Linked DNA regions of Homo sapiens: region 1 is linked to region 2. Evidence: promoter capture Hi-C in human tissues and cell types (Jung and others, 2019). All regions are on one chromosome and are shown on one strand. Each heading gives the region's core, a stretch centred on a gene start or on the middle of the fragment in contact. The rest is flanking DNA. Distances are from core to core; before and after follow the strand shown. Region 1 overlaps KIF14 (kinesin family member 14). Region 2 holds the start of CACNA1S (calcium voltage-gated channel subunit alpha1 S).

Region 1 (4,783 bases), core at 132-2,631, 530 kb after region 2:
GTCTTATGTGTTGGCAGGCTGGAGTATGGTGGCACGATCTCAGCTTACTGCAACCTCCGCCTCCCGGGTTCAAGTGATTCTCCTGCCTCAGCTTCCCAAGTAGCTGGGAGTACAGTTTTTGTATTTTTAGTAGCGATGGGGTTTCACCATGTTGGCCAGGATGGTCTCTACCTCCTGACCTCGTGATCCACCCACCTCAGCCTCCCAAAGTGCTGGGTTTACAGTTGTGAGCCACCGGGGCCCGGCCCGACTATTTTTTTTTTTTTTAAAGTCTTTTTGTTGTTGTTGCCCAGGCTGGAATGCAGTGGTGTGATCTTGGCTCACTGCAGCCTCTGCCTCCCAGGCTCAAGCGATTCTCCTGCTTCAGCTTCCTGAGTAGCTGGGATTACAGGCATGCACCACCATGCCCAGCTAAGTTTTGTATTTTTAGTAGAGACAGGGTTTCACCATGTTGGCCAGGCTGGTATCAAACTTCTGACCTCAGGTGATCTGCCTGCCTCGGCTTCCCAAAGTGCTGGGATTACAGGTGTGAGCCACCATGCCTAGCCAAGTCCTGGGAGACTTTTGATTGCACTTTTTTTGGTACATTTCTATGTAAAACACAGCATATTTTTAATATAAACTTTTTTATTATGGAAAATTTTAAACAAACTATAAAAGTAGAGATTGCTGCAGTAAGCCTTTATATATTTATCCAACTTCAATGATTATCAACACATGTTCAATCTTGTTGCCGCTATCCTCAAGCTCACTGCTTCCCTGGACTAGTTTGAAGCAAATCCCAGACACCATATCATTTAAGGTGTACACACTTCACTGTGTATCTCTAAATTAGATAAGGACTCTCTTTTTGCTCTCCCTCTCTCTCTTTCTCTGTCACTCTTTTAAGCATTGCCATAACTATATTAATAATAATTTCTTACACATCACATATTTACTCCATATTCGTATTTCCTGGATTGTTTCATCCTTTTTTTAAAAAAAAAACTTGATTTGTTTGAATCAGGATACCAACATCATCTACACATTGCGTTTGGTAGATGTGCCTTTTAAGTCTCTTTTAATCTGTAAATTCACTCTTCTCTTTCATCTAGTAATTTGCTGAAGAAATCAGATGATTTGTCCTGTAGAGTTTTTTTGGATTCTGGATTTTGCTGATTGTGTCTGCCTGGTGTTACTTAACAGGCTCCTCTGTTCCAGTATTCCCTAGAAAGTGGTAGTTAGATCTTCAGGCCTATCAAATTCAGGTTCAGTTTTTTAGCAAGAATACTTGGTAGGTATGTTGTGTACTTTCTGTAACTTCTTTAAAATAACTTTTAAAATATTAATACTCTTTTTTTTTTTTTCTGAGACAGAGTCTTGCTCTGTCACCCAGGTTGGAGTGCATTGGAGTGCAGTAGCGCAATCTCAGCTCACTGCAACTTCTGTCTCCCGCTTTCAAGCAATTCTCCTGCCTCAGCCTCCCGAGTAGCTGGGACTACAGGCATCCGCTACCACGCCTGACTAATTTTTGTATTTTTAGTAGAAACAGTGTTTCACCATGATGGCCAGGCTAGTTTCAAACTCCTGACCTCAGGTGATCCACCGGCCTTGGTCTCCCAAAGTGCTGGGATTACAGCTGTGTGCCACTTCACCCAGCCAATACTCTTTGTATCTATTGCCAGGAGGCAATACTTTTATTCTTCTGAGGGCCTAGACAGTGCCTTACAATGATTACTTGATTTTTTAATTCATGTGAATGAGTTTATCCTTCCAAAAAGCTATTTTTAGTAGATTACTGGTTATAAGTTTGTCTGAACAATATAGAAAATATTTATGATAAATTTTTTTTTTTTGAGACAAAGTCTTGCTCTGTCACACAGGCTGGGGTGCAGAGTGCCATCATAGCTGACTGCAACCTCAAACTCCTGGGCTCAAGTGATCCTCTTGTCTCAGGCTCTCCAGTAGCTAGGACTACAGGTGCATGCTTCCTTGCTTGGCTAATTTATTTTATTTTCTAGAGATAGGGTGCCACTATATTGCCCAGGCAAGCCTTGAAATTCTGGCCTTCAAGTGATCCTCCTGCCTCAGCCTCCCAAAATATGGGGATTATAGACATGAGCTACTGTGCCCAGTCATAATCTTAAATTCAAATTAGGAGCTGGGTGTGGTGGCTCATGTCTGTAATCCCAGCATTTTGGAAGGCTGAGGCAGGTAGATTGCTTAAGCCCAGGAGTTCAAGACCAGCCTGAGCAACATGGCAAAACCTCCTCTCTACAAAATATAAGAAAGTTAGCTGGGTGTGGTGGCATGCACCTGTAGTTCCAGCTACTTGGAAGGCTGAGATGGGAGGATCACTTGAGCCTGGGGAGGTCAAGGCTGCAGTGAGCCATGCTTGAGCCACTGTACTATATAGCCTAGGCAACCTAGTGAGACCCTGACTCAAAAAAAAAAAAAAAAAAAAAAAGGAAAGTGAAATTGTGTACTAAATTATTTTCCTTTTTTATTTTAATGTCCTGACATATATATATACATTTTTTAAAATTTTTAGGCAAAATACAAAAGGACATGTTTCTACATAAGTAAGACTATAGAATACTCAATACTTGAAATAATTTAGAAATGAGGAAGAAAGAAAAAAGACATTAGAAAAAAAATTTTTTTCTAGATATTAGAAAGTAAAGCATTGTCTTTGGCTTATCTTTTTTATATCAACTTCCATTTTCTTACATCTTCCCACAGGCAAAAACCTCATTTTATAGGAAAAATGTTTTATTTCACCAAATTACTCAAATATCACTTATCCTTCTGCAATATAGAGTTAAAACCATTCATTTAAAATCAGTGATTTTTTTTTTAGGAATTGTTTTGCCTAATGGTATATGTTAGTGTCCATGTATGTATTTTGAATCTTTTCTGTGTGCTTTGTATTAGTGCAGACAACTTGGAGCTCTATGAAACTCTCAATGATGATTCAGGAAGCCAATGCTATCAGCAGCAAATTGAAAACATACTATGTTTTTGGCAGGTGAGTAATTAATTATCCTGATTTTAAATGTTTTAAACAAGTTGGCCTTTATATCATTTAGTTTCTCTTTTTTTTTTTTTTTTTTCTGAGACAGAGTCTTGCTCTGTTGCCCAGGCTGGAGTGCAGTGGCGCAATCTGGGCTCACTGCAACCTCCACCTCCCGGGTTCAAGCAATTCTCCTGCCTCAGCCTCCTGAGTAACTGGGATTACTGGGTGGTGTGCGCCACCACACCCAGCTAATTTCTGTATTTTTAGTTAGAGATGGGGTTTCACCACGTTGGCCAGGCTGGTTTCAAACTCTTGACCTAGTGATCCGCCTGACTTGGCCTCTCAAAGTGCTGGGATTACAGGTGTGAGCCACTGCGCCCGGCTATCATTTAGTTTCTCTAAAGTCCATTCTACAGCTATAGGAAAGAGCTGGTATCAGAATCCCCAGAATCCCCAGTGAGACTTTATCCTTTCAGAGGTCATTCTGGATTAAGAGAGATTTCAACAATTAACATACTAGTATATTTATAAATAAAATAATTTTAGTTGTTTTAGGAATTTGCTAATTTTCTTTTGAGTTGAAAATGTATCAGTATTTCATTGTTCAAAAGGAACATACCTTATTAGAAATTTTTGATTTTAAAAAATTTTTGTTATTTTTATATGTTTTATACTTATATGATTATTACTATAATAAAAATACTTAACTGTGGAAAGACTTAATCAGTGGATGGAATTTTTAGGGAAATTATTCTACCCCAGAAAACTCTTAGTATAAATGGATGTGTATGTTTCAGGATAAGCTTTTTTTTGTTTATTTTTCTTTCAGACATGATATATCAGATAAAAGTAGTTCTGACACTTCTATTCGGGTTCGTAACCTGAAACTAGGAATCTCAACATTCTGGAGTCTGGAAAAGTTTGAATCTAAACTTGCAGCAATGAAAGAACTTTATGAGGTTTGGAATATTATTAAAATCTCTATAAATTTTTTAAAATAAAAAAGTATAAAAGTTCAAGTACCTGCTTTTGGTGAAAAAAGTATATATATAAAAGTGACATATTCTCCATATAGAAAATTTGGAAAATAAAAGGCAATCTATCAATTACCTAAACCAACCAGTATTAACAATTATATATATTTATTTTTACATTTAAATGGAGTTTTATTGGATTGTTTTAATACAGTTATAGGTATAATAGAGAAATTTAAGGGTGGAATCTATTGTCATAATTGTATATTTTTAAAATTTTTACATTTAAGCTTAAGGAAAGAAGAAATTTGATAGACATAAATCATATTACATCATTTGAAATGATCTTCCTATGCCTAATGTACCTTTTTGCATATTTACATTTCTCCGTTGCTGTGCTTTGAGTGCTTCCAACTGCCTGCTGCCTGTTATAGTCACAACTGAAAAATCTCTGCACATATTAGTTTTTAATATCTTATTTTGTCATCTTTTATTTTCCAAAATGAAACTAAACATATGAGCTTTTTATTACACTTTGATGCTCACCGACAAATTGCTTGCCAGAAATATTGCCATTTTACCAATGTTACCAGTTTGCATTTTACAAATATATATATATATATTTTTTTGAAATGGAATTTCACTCTTGTTGCCCAGGCTGGAGTGCAGTGGTGCAATCTCAGCTCACTGCAACCTCCGCCTCCCGGGTTCAAGCGATTCTCTTGCCTCAGCCTCCTGAATAGCTGGGATTACAGGTGCCTGCCACCAGCCCCAGCTAATTTTTGTATTTTTTTAAAAAAGACGAGTTTTCACC
Region 2 (5,147 bases), core at 1,965-4,464:
GGGCCCTCAGAGTTCCGCGGCGCCATGGGCTGGCTCTGAGAAGGCGTGCACCGACCTCCTGAGAGGGGCCACACTTGTCTAGGGCGATGGCTCTTGTTAGGGAGTCATTGGAAGCCACCCTAAAGGGCGAAAAGAGGCCCTAGCAAGTCCTGGTACCCAAGAGCTGCTGCTAGCGATGTGACTTGCCCCACTGGTGGAGACGGTGCAGACCCCAAGCCGGGGCCATTCGGTGGAGGCCTCGCTCTGGGTCCAGCTCCACGCGGCACCATGAACAATAACTTCTGCCGGGCTCTGGTGGACCGGAGGCCTCTGGGGCCCCCCAGCTGCATGCAGCTGGGCGTCATGCCCCCTCCCCGGCAGGCGCCCCTGCCCCCCGCCGAGCCCCTGGGCAACGTGCCCTTCCTGCTGTACCCGGGCCCAGCAGAGCCGCCCTACTACGACGCCTATGCGGGGGTGTTCCCCTACGTGCCCTTCCCCGGCGCCTTCGGGGTCTACGAATACCCCTTCGAGCCAGCCTTCATCCAGAAGCGCAACGAGCGCGAGAGGCAGCGAGTCAAGTGCGTCAACGAGGGCTACGCTCGCCTCCGCGGCCACCTCCCCGGCGCCCTGGCTGAGAAGCGACTCAGCAAGGTGGAGACGCTGCGCGCCGCCATCCGCTACATAAAGTACCTGCAAGAGCTGCTGAGCTCGGCCCCCGACGGCTCGACGCCCCCCGCTTCCCGCGGCCTCCCGGGCACCGGGCCCTGCCCCGCGCCGCCCGCCACCCCCCGTCCCGACCGCCCTGGCGACGGCGAGGCCCGGGCGCCCTCCTCCCTGGTGCCGGAGTCATCCGAGTCCTCCTGCTTCTCCCCGTCGCCTTTCTTGGAGTCGGAGGAATCCTGGCATTGATCGGGCCTGTGGCCGCCCCCGGCTTGGAGGATGATCCGCCGGCCCCGTCCCACTTTCGGGAGCAGCGGGAGGCTGTTGGGTCACCCGCGATGCGCCGCAGGACGGTGACTGTAGGAGGTCCGCGGCGCTCCCGTGTCTGCGACACCCTCCCTCCTCCACCAGCTTGGGGCGGAAGTGCAGGGCAGCGGGTACGATGGGCACGATAGAGACCTAGGAGCTCCGTGGGTGAAGCGAGGGGCAGGGCCTGGGACTGCTCCGGGCGTCCTGCGTCCCCTCCGGGGTGCAGAGGGGCTCCCCAGGACGGTCATCCCTGGGTCTGGCTCCCGCTCGGCCTCAGGTGGCTCTGCTCCGTCCTTCCTTGCCGCAGGCGCAGTCCAGTCTCTGCGAGTCCCCGGGATGCGAGCCCGACTTTGAGCCCTCGGTTACCATGCCACTGCTCTCCACCAGATGGCCTCAGATACTAGCGACTTCTTTGGGAGCACGCTTACTCCTCGAGAAAGGAACCCAGAGGAAGGGATGGGAGGCCAGATTGCTGCTGGCGCTCAGCCCAGACCGAACCTACAGACTCAGCAGAGGCGACCTGTGTGCCCCGGTGGCGTTCTCTGGCTTCCTGGGTTGGGAGGGGGGGTTACTCCCTCCCCGCATCCCCCCCATGAGGTCGTCTAGTTTTGTCCCAGGTTGGGTGGGGACTGTGGTTTTTTTCCCTCAGACTGTAAGCCTTGGGGGAGGGGGGCGTGCATATAGGTACATAGGCACTGCGTCGGCACCAAAGAGCTAAATAAAAGGATTGTTGAATTTTCTCATTCCTAGATCATTGTCTACCCTCACCCTTCCTGGTGCCCCTTTCTTATTCTCACTCCCAGCCCAGAGTACTTGCTGGGAGGATATGTGGGGTTCGCTGTTAGCTCAGCACATTTAAGATTCAGTGTTGTTAGCTCAGGCGTTCAATGAATTTTTTTTTTTTTTTTTTTTTTTTTGAGACAGGTTTTGCTCTGTTGCCCAGACTGGAGTGCAGTGATTCAATCCCTGCTCACTGCAACCTCCTTCTCCTGGGTTTGAGCAATTCTCCTGCCTCAGCCTCCAGAGTAGCTGGGATTATAGGTGCACACCACCACGCCCGCTAATCTTTGGTATTTTTAGTAGAATGCGGGTTTCACCATGTTGGCCATGCTGGTCTCGAATTCCTCACCTCAAGTTATCTACCTACCTTGGTTTCCCAAAGTGCTGGGATTACCGTGGCTATCCTCAATGAACTTTTCTTTTTGAGACAAGGTCTCACTCTGTCTCACTCTGTCATCCAGGCTGGAGTGCAGTGGCCAGATCTTGGCTCATTGCAGCCTCAACCTCCCAGGCTCAACTGATCCTCCCACCTTGGCCCCCCTAGTAGCTGGGACTACAAACACACACCACCATACCCTGCTAATTTTTGTATTTTTTGTAGAGACAGAGTTTCACTACGTTGCCCCGACTGGTCTTGAAGTCCTGAGCTCAAGCCATTCTCCCACCTCAGCCTCCCAAAGTGTTGGGATTACAGGCGTGAGCCACCATGCCTGGCCTCAGTGAACATTTACAGGGAGCATAGTACATAGGGGGACTGTGCAGAGAAGGGGCCAGAGTCCCAGAGATAATGCACACAACCTTTACACCTGTAGGGATGGGAGGAGATGGGGAAGAAAGATACACAGCAGATGCTCCACAGTGAGGCAGGTGCTATGCCAGAGGTGTGCACACTCAGGGTTGTTCTGGGAGCCTTCTAGCCCACTGGAGAGGGGTTTACTGTTTCTCTGACATGGGATTGCTTGTGGGGGTGGGTTGAGGGTATGCTTGGGGAGTTTTGGCTGATGGTGCAGATACTGAGATGGGTAGGGGCTGCTGTGGAGCTGTCCTGACTTAGGCTGCCCAGTGCCTTCTCCAGACAATGTCATGGGGCTGAGGAGGGGTAAGCCTAATTTTGGCATGAGGGGGCCACTCTGCAGTTTGAGGTTCCATATCCAAGGCTACCTATTCCTGACCTCTGTTGCCCCAGGCTTGAAACCTTCCATCCTGTCTCCCTCTCCCACTGCCCCTGCCCCATCCCAGGCCTGTGTGTAAGTTCTTCCCCCGACCCACCCCACCCTCCTCAGGGGACAGATTGGGAAGTCACTGGCTGGGCTGGGTGGAATGACAGCTGCCTGGCCTCAGAAGCTCAGGCCCGGCAGCGGGGAGCCGAGTGGAGGCTAATTTTACTTGCTGGGAGCGAGGAGAGTAATCCTCCTGCCCCCACTCCTGCCCCCGCCCCCTGGCTGGCTCAGCAGGGCAGGCTCAGCCGACAGCCTCAGCCAGCCTAGTCCCCAAGGCGGGGGCATTGGGGACACAGGGAAGGGAAAGCACTGGGGTGGGGGAGCAGGAGAAAGCCAGATTCCCAGGGAAGCCATGGAGCCATCCTCACCCCAGGATGAAGGCCTGAGGAAGAAACAGCCCAAGAAGCCAGTTCCTGAGATTCTGCCAAGGCCACCCCGGGCCTTGTTCTGCCTGACCCTGGAGAACCCCCTGAGGAAGGCCTGCATCAGCATTGTAGAATGGAAGTATCCTTCAGGGCCCGGGCCGTGGGGGGGGGTGTGCGTCATGAGGGAGGGATTCGGGGTGATCACAGAGCACAAACTTCCTACAGGAGGGCCAGGGAGGCCTGGCACTTAGACATGGGGTGAACTCACAGAATTGAGTGAGGAGCTGGGGGAAGGAGCCCTCGGCTAAGCAGGAGAGGAGGAGGAGGAAGAGGAGGAAGACGAGGAGGGTGGGGGAGGAGGAGGAAGAGGAGGAGGGTGGGGGAGGAGGAGGAAGAGGAGGAGGAGGAAGAGGAAGAGAAGGAGGACTTGGTGGGGCTTCCTGGGCCTGAGTGGGCCACCCAAGTCCTGGATGACAACCAGAGATGCCTACTGACCACCTATGGGTGGGGCCTGTTTCATGGGGACTGTTCCCATGTGTGCCCAAATCCACATTATCATGGGGTGCCACTAGGTTTTTGAAGCACCAGCCTCATTTTAGAATAGGATAGGGACCAAAAAAAGATGCGATGGCCTCTTTGAGAAAACTCTCCCTTGTTTGGGTTGGGTGGGGGGTGACAGTGGACAGAGGTGAGCTGAAGGAAGGCTTCCTCTGGGGGCAGGTCCCAGCTGAGGACAGAGCCAAGGGGAGAAATGGATCTGAAAGACACCTGGTCTCAGTGGCTCCAAGACACAGGCCAAACAAGCCTGGTTGTTCTAGCTCAGACGTGCCACCCTGGGGACAGGGACTTTGAAACTCATGCTATGTTTGCATTTGCTCTGGTGGGGAGAATGATGAAAATATCTGGGTTATTTGGGGAAGGGAGGAAGGAGTGACAGAGAGAAGGGGAGGGCTGTGTCAAGTGGGTTCTGAGAGCGAGGGTGGGGCATATTTGAAATATTTCTGAAGAGTTCTGGAAGGCTGGGCTCCTACCAGCTGTTCCCTAGAAGGAAGGAGAATGAGGGATAACTGGAAGGACAAGAGAAACGTGGGGCAAGTAGAGATAGTTTGGGGTCAGGGTCAGCCCTGTTCCCCTGACCCGCTCTCGGCCAGGCGGTATATCGCCCACATCAAACCCTCCTAGGCCCTCCCTCCTTGCCTCTCTTCTGCAATCAGGTTTACTCTGTGGGTTCTCCCTCTCCTCCATCCTCTGCTCCTCTGCGCCCTGCCCCTGTGGCCCTCCTCTTTTCTCAAACACTGGAGGTTACTGGGAAGAGAATGGGATTTTTCTGTCAAGCCCAACTACGTAATATGCCTCCCCATCCACCCCCAAACAACTCCCTCGCTTCCTCCCTTGCTTTCTCTAGCTCTTTCCAGACTTGCTGCCTAATGGGCCAGAAAGTCGAGAAAGCCATGGGCCTGGGGTACCCTCTGGAAATGGCTGTGGCGGGGTGGGTGTGTCTGGGAGGGGTGAGGTGTGATGGGTGTGAGCACGTGCACACCAGCATGTGCACATGGCTCTGGAAATTCAGCATTCATCTCTCCATCTCTCCTTCCCAGTCCTACTCAGTGAGTTCTCAACCTTACCCTGCATCAACCCTTACCCTCCCATGCCATTTATCTGGGTAAGCCTCTGTGGATTGGCCAGAATCTGCCAAAGTCATGGCTCCTTGGGAGCAGGCAAGGGCATGGACAGGCGCTGAGAGTGGAGCGGTGTGAAGACCCCCTAGGCCTTAAAGCTGAGGAGCCCTCAGCCAGGGACCAGACCTTTGCCATTCCAAGGAGTCTACATGAAA

What was found. The method cuts DNA at HindIII sites, captures the fragments that hold promoters and counts their contacts. A contact is called where the count stands out against the background at its distance.
Region 1: a contact is called between a fragment that was not itself captured here and the fragment with the promoter of CACNA1S in region 2, in 1 of the 25 tissues and cell types used here (thymus).

Annotation. Positions count from the first base shown.
Region 1 is chr1:200,579,425-200,584,207 of GRCh38, reverse strand. KIF14 (kinesin family member 14) reads left to right here. Exons shown (of 30, transcript NM_014875.3): 20 at 2,914-3,007; 21 at 3,825-3,954. Among named protein-coding and RNA genes, the nearest start is that of KIF14, 39 kb to the left of the region's middle. The HindIII fragment of the contact is 5,297 bases long and covers 1-4,029 here.
Region 2 is chr1:201,110,493-201,115,639 of GRCh38, reverse strand. It overlaps CACNA1S (calcium voltage-gated channel subunit alpha1 S), which reads left to right and starts at 3,214. Exons shown (of 44, transcript NM_000069.3): 1 at 3,214-3,452. The coding sequence starts at 3,301. It overlaps ASCL5 (achaete-scute family bHLH transcription factor 5), which reads left to right. Exons shown (of 2, transcript NM_001270601.2): 2 at 1-1,697. The coding sequence starts at 268. The coding sequence ends at 888. RefSeq lists an enhancer at 1-387 and a silencer at 1,038-1,087. The HindIII fragment of the contact is 14,734 bases long and covers 1-5,147 here.